2 separate regions of the Homo sapiens genome follow, and region 2 is linked to region 1. Evidence: promoter capture Hi-C in 16 types of primary human blood cells and fetal thymus (Javierre and others, 2016). All regions are on one chromosome and are shown on one strand. The core of a region is centred on a gene start or on the middle of the fragment in contact, and the rest is flanking DNA. Distances in the headings are between cores, read along the strand shown.

Evidence for each region. Contacts are between HindIII fragments. The CHiCAGO score rates a contact against its expected background, and 5 or more counts as called.
Region 2: a contact is called between a fragment that was not itself captured here and the fragment with the promoter of WDR35 in region 1, in 1 of 17 cell types (M2 macrophages). The highest score is 5.2, in M2 macrophages.

The regions. Positions count from the first base shown.
Region 1 is chr2:19,988,140-19,991,367 of GRCh38, reverse strand. It overlaps WDR35 (WD repeat domain 35), which reads left to right and starts at 1,263. Exons shown (of 27, transcript NM_020779.4): 1 at 1,263-1,376; 2 at 2,086-2,203. The coding sequence starts at 1,353. WDR35-DT (WDR35 divergent transcript) reads right to left here and starts at 1,164. Exons shown (of 3, transcript NR_110235.1): 1 at 874-1,164. RefSeq lists a silencer at 1,043-1,122 and enhancers at 1,283-1,332, 963-1,466, 1,483-1,532. The HindIII fragment of the contact is 12,234 bases long and covers 1-3,228 here.
Region 2 is chr2:20,294,832-20,297,888 of GRCh38, reverse strand. It overlaps PUM2 (pumilio RNA binding family member 2), which reads left to right. Exons shown (of 21, transcript NM_015317.5): 8 at 211-336. Among named protein-coding and RNA genes, the nearest start is that of PUM2, 54 kb to the left of the region's middle. The HindIII fragment of the contact is 1,909 bases long and covers 524-2,432 here.

The DNA.
Region 1 (3,228 bases), core at 14-2,513:
GGTTTGGCTAGGCACAACTGGCCTGTTAAGAGGGTAGGACCATATATAAAGTGGCTTGGGAAGCAGAGCCGGATGGAATGTTGCCCTGCAGAAAGCATATTGGCTTACTTGAGGTGGGGGCTCCCTAGTAAAAACATTTAGGATTGAGGGAAGATCTGATTTTGGATGGAGTTTAGATTTGCTAGGAAAGGCACTAGGGACTATTGTCAATTCTATAATAGATTGTGCTGGGTGAGACAAATCACCCAGGTCAAAGGATTGGAGGATTTTTATTTTATTTTTGTCTGAGATGGGAAAAGACTCCAAGTGGGGAAATTAACTACTGATGCATAAATTACATGCTAGATTATGGTAAAAGGGAAAACCAGAAATAAAAACATAGGTGAGACCAAATAATTTCATGAGTGGTTCTACTTGGATTTCTGCCCTATGCCTTAGACTTTGAGGCTTTGTAACTCTCAAGCATTCCAAAAGGACAAAGGAGAATGAAGAAAGAAGGTAAGAAAAAGAAGAGAATATGTAACAGTCGACTCTAGACGAGAAAACACCAAACGCTCAAATATTTGTAAAATGGGAGGCCATGCCCCAATAGCAATTGTACGCTGTAATTACCCAACGTTTACAGAAATTCCTTTAAAAGGACCCTCGGGGTTGCGGTAATAATTAAACTGTTAAAAAATATCAAAACAAGCGGAATAAACAAAATCTTCTATTCCTAAATTGCTCTAGAGGTTCTCCAATCCCCAAAGACACAGAGAAGGGTTGTAAGATCTCAGTACGCACATTTGCACTTTCATCTGGCCAGTGGCGCCAGCCTATCAAATACAGTAAATGGCTTTTCCCTTTCAAGAATGTTGGAACTTTGGAACTTACAAAATACTAAATAATTTGCCCTTATTCGAACGGGCGCCTCTCCTCTTAGGTTTATAGTAATGCCACCTGAGGCGCGGCTCCATAGCGATCATCACAGGTGTGGCGGGAGGGAGGGCGGCAGTGACCACGAGACGGGGCGCAGAGGGCGAGCGCACGGCTGGCAGTGACAGGTCGCGACCCAGCTCCTTGCGGAGAGCAGAAAGGCCCAGACGCCAGGGAACAGGACTAGCCCAGCTACCGCCTCGCGCCTCGCGCCCTGCGCCCACAAACCCATCGACGTCCGCGCAGGCGCACTACGCCGGTGCCCGGTGCGAGGGCGTCACCGGAAGTGTCCCGCGGCGCCCCGGATGCGACCGGGCAACAGCGGTTGCCAGGGCGACGGGAGCTTTCCGGAGCTGCTGGTACTCCCGATTGGAGACGTAGAACCGTTACTTGTCGAGGGCCTTAGCGGCCGCCGTGACCCTCTCGGGGATCCCACGATGTTCTTCTACCTGAGCAAGAAAGTGAGTTTCCTGGGGGGCGTCCTCGTTTCTCCGCCATTCCCGCAGCCTGCGGCGATTCCCGCTGCCTTCCCGAGAAGCCAGGCTCCTTCACCCGGTCCTGGTCGTGGCTTCGCCATTCCGCAGCCATCCTTCCCGCCGGGTCCAGCCTCCGACCTCTTCCTGCGGTTCCCAGAGCCTCAGTCTTTGGCCGAGCTTGCTGCCCTCTCGCAGCACTCTCCCATTCCTGCCCCTGGCTAGGTCCTTTTGGGTGGCTTGAGGATAAGTCGCCACGTGCTACCCTATGTTTCCTCCTCCACTTGTTGCTGATCCACGTGATTTAAACTCTTTGGATCACCACGAGCCATTGGGCAAGAGAAAAGAAATAACAATAGGATAGCCTAAGTTGTAGGTAAAAAGGAAGAGGGACTGGTGGTATGGATTTATACCCTCTCCCCGTCCTCCCTTTAAAAAATCCATCCGGTGAGACTCTGGCGTTGGCTTCCTCCGCAGTCACTATCCTTCTCTTTTGTGCACTTCTTTCCCTCTTTCCCAAATGCTAGAGCCCGGGTCAGTTCAGGGGACCATGCCCATTTTCACAACAGCTCATTTTTTTTCTGCAAGGCCGTTCGTTTTTCTTCTTGGAAGATTTTCTTCAGCTTTCATCTCCTGCAGACTTACTTCCCAGCTCCTTCGTGAAAAGTTGCTAGTGCGGCTGTGGTTGCTTTTTCAGATTTCCATTCCCAATAACGTGAAGCTGCAGTGTGTATCCTGGAACAAGGAACAAGGGTTCATAGCATGCGGTGGTGAAGATGGATTACTGAAAGTTTTGAAATTAGAGACGCAGACAGGTAAATGAATGCAAGCCCACATGTTTGGTAGTAAATTGGCTAATGTTATTTGTTCAGTGCGGTCTACTCATGTTATCTGTCAATATGCAGTTCTGATTATTTTAAAGGGAAAACTACCAAAACATTTTATGGTGTTTTTCTGGAGTATATTTGCAATAAAGTTCAGAGAATGTTGAATGTAAACATCGGATGGTTTTTGCTGAGTTATTAATGGAAAATGAAAAATAATGAAGAATGAAAATAAGTCACTGTGTTATGCTATGTCTAATTATTGTACTATATTATTAGGAGTCTAAAAGAAATCCTGTGAGTCAACATTTCACTAAGAAAATCTGGCAGATTGTTTACAGGTCTGTGTCATCCTTTCTGCTTATCAGATGCATTAATGGTTATTCACCTAGTGTCCAAGAACAGAAAATGGGATACGTTTTACATTTCTATTAGTAGGTCTCTTGTCTTTGCTGCTTGATTTCTTTCTTTATCTAGTTCTCTGGAATCACAGCAAACAGCTTCCCACTTCTTAGCCCCCCTAGATTGAAGACCTAGATAAGGTAATTGGAGTTAAATCTCAGCTCTTCCACAAGACTACTGAATGACTTTCAACAAGTTAGCTGAGGATCTTACTACTTTAGTTTAGTCTTCCATAAAATGAAAATGTAGGGGGTTAAACTGCATTACATTTTTGGATTCCTTACAACATAGCTTCTCAAACTGTATTAGGTATAAGAATCACTGGAAGAGGTTGTTAAGATGGATTTCATGCTCTACCCCCACACAATAGACCCGGGATGGGGCCTGAGAATTTCCATTTCTAGTGAAGCTGAGTTGCTGGTCCTCAGACCGCACTTTGAATAGCATTACCTTACAACTTTGAATGCGGTATGAATAATAAATACTTATTGACGATTTTCCATGTAGTGGATGTTTAACCTTCACAATCTTATTTGACTTCACAATAATCTTGGGCAGTAGGTATTCTAGGTGAGAAAATTGAGGCTCTGAGCTGTTAACTGCCCTAGGTCACG
Region 2 (3,057 bases), core at 229-2,728, 310 kb before region 1:
GCAATTCTGCAAAACAGCTGTTTCTTAAATGAAAACTAATTTAGAGTTAGCGGTACATGCCCAAGGTCACTTAGTAAAAATTTGAACCATTATGCACACTCTGCTCCCCACCCCCACACCACCCCAGATTCAGAGTAGAAATGTTTTTATCTAATGAAAAAAATCATACTTTACATTGTTGTTTATTATTTCTCCCCTTTTAAAATATAGCTGGTGTATTCTCAGCAGGCCTTGCTCCAGCTGCATTTGTGCCAAATCCATACATTATTAGTGCTGCTCCTCCAGGGACCGATCCGTATACTGCAGCAGGATTGGCTGCAGCAGCTACATTAGCAGGTAACATACTATTTGTTCATCTTTATTATGGTTGCTTTTTAATGTATTTAGTTTTGGGTGTAAGCTTTATTTTTCTCTATTTGGGCAATTTGAAATTCCTAAGAAAAACTGAAACATTATCCAGAATGAACTAAAGTTTCCAGGAAGTTAGTACTATTTTTCAACTGTAATGCTACAGGGAAAAGCTTAAGCAATAACTTTTCCTCGTATACGTAATTGGCTTACATTTCAGCTTTATAGTTTTAGAAATCTATATAGTCAACCATGAATCTCCATTTTAATGACAAACCCCATTACCCGCAGAGACAATGCAAAGTAAAATTACTTCTCAGAAAATAAAATAGAGGTAGGTGGCCTGCATACATAGGTCAGGGGTAGAATAGAGTAAGATAAACAGATACAGTAATTCTGAGAAAATATGTATCTAAAATTTCTTGAGCAATGCTAAAATGTACAAACAAGGTGGGGGACAAAAAGTTTGGATCAAGTTGGAAAGAACGTACTAAAAACTGCCCAGCCTGAGACTACCACCCAGAATCTGAAATAAAAGCCAAAGCTGGCCAGGTGCAGTGGCTCACACCTGTAATCCTAGCTCTTTGGGATGCCGAAGCGCCTGGCCTGGGTGACAGAGTGAGACTGTCTAAAAATGAAAACAACAACAAAAAAGCTGTATTTATTGTCTGTGTAAGTAAGGAAAAGTTGTGTGCTGATCAGGCACAGTCTTATTTGAACAAAGCGATTTGCTGATCTTAGTTGGGGTTCTTGGGAAGAGTTTGTTTTAGGTTGAGGTGGCTACAAAGACAGAAATGAGTTAGTCTGAGGCATTGTTTATATTGATTATACAGGCAAGAATAGGTTGATATCTGCCTTAGAATTTTGTTTATTGGAATGAGTCTGCTAATGGGCTGACTTTCAAAACTTGAGGCTGTCCCTGTTGTTTTTGGGGGGGCTGGGGGGGCTTTGAGCGATATCTTGACTGAAATATTGTCACTAATCAGTTTGAAACCCACTTCTGACAGTCAGTATTTTCCTAGGAGACTGACTTTTTTTTTTTTTTTGAGACAGAGTCTCGCTCTGTTGCCCAGGCTGGAGTGCAGTGGCACGATCTCGGCTCACTGCAAGCTCCGCCTCCCGGGTTCACACCATTCTCCTGCCTCAGCCTCCCGAGTAGCTGGGACTACAGGCGCCCACCACCACGCCTGGCTAATTTTTTGTATTTTTCGTAGAGACGGGGTTTCACTGTGTTAGCCAGGATGGTCTCCATCTCCTGACCTTGTGATCCGCCTGCCTCGGCCTCCCAAAGTGCTGGGATTACAGGCGTGAGCCACCGCGCCCGGCCAAGACTGATTTTTAAAGTCAAGATCTTGTTTTAAAAAACGGGGAAGAAATTTCAGATTTATATTTGATATCTTAGCTACGACAATGAAACTAAGCTGTCATTAGCTTTTGGTGTGGACTTGGATGTGATTCTATAAGGATGTGAGCTTTTCTGGTGCCATTTAACTGGATGTTACTATGTAAAGTGTTGGTATAATACAGAGAACCACTAAACTGTGGGTCTGATAGAAGTAACTTGAAGAGGTCATTTAGTTTGTGTATAAGCATTCTATGTATTTTGGACTTAAGTTTTCTAGGACCAGCATTGTCCAGTAGAAATACAATGTGAGCCAGAAAATGTAGTTTAAGATTTTGTAGTAGTCACAATATAAAAGTAAAAAGCAATAAAATTAATTTCAATAATACTCTTTAATTTGTCCCAACATATCCAAAATATAATAATTTCAGCATGTTAATAAATTCAGGCTCCTGGCTAGGTTGGATGAGTTTCTAGGTAGATGTTATGAATAGAGTTTACAAAACTTATATTTTTTATAATATATCCTTTCATTTTTACAATGTGTCCTTTTTATTTTATTTTTACGATGTATCCTTTTCATTGTTTTATTTTTACGGTGTACCCTTTTTATTATTTTTACAATGTATCTTTTTATTGTTTTATTTTTACAATGTACCCTTTTTTTGGTAAACTCTATTCGGTGTTTTAATAGTCCTCATTTCAGGTTCAGCTTACCTGGCTATCTGTAGAAATAAAAGCTTTTTATTTTAGTGATTCAGTCAAATATACTGGGCTTTTTTCCCCTTTGAATGCAACGTGAAACCGAGAGTTTGACTTTTAAAAATACATTAATACAAATAAAGATGTCCTAAAATTCCACTGATAACATTTTAGGACATGTTTGTTATGTAAGTCAGGAATCATGACATTTTATTCATTACTTTAATGGTGAAGCTTATTGTGCATAAAACTATTTACTTTCTAGGAATCAAATATTATCTTGAATAAAGTAGACTAGAGCAGGAACAATTTATTCTTATTTTCCTAGTTTCCCTTCTATTTTTCTTTCTGCTTATATTATCTAGTGCTTTCTTGTCTTGACTCAGTTTCATTTTCCTAACCACATAAATGCTGACGTCTCATTTGTTTTCTTATAATTTGCAGTTGTTCTGTGAGAATCGTGACTGAAATATGAAAAATATTTTAAAATTTAAGGTTTTCAACTCAAATACCATTGTAGCATGCTTGGTACCAGAATGTTCCCCAGTTTTGTGTTATAGATTGGAAAGTAAAATATTTTAAAAGTATCTTGTAATCCATCTCAGTAGTCAAAATTCTCTGAGAGAAACGATGAATGAGCATTTAAAAAATCTTAGTTTTATGGA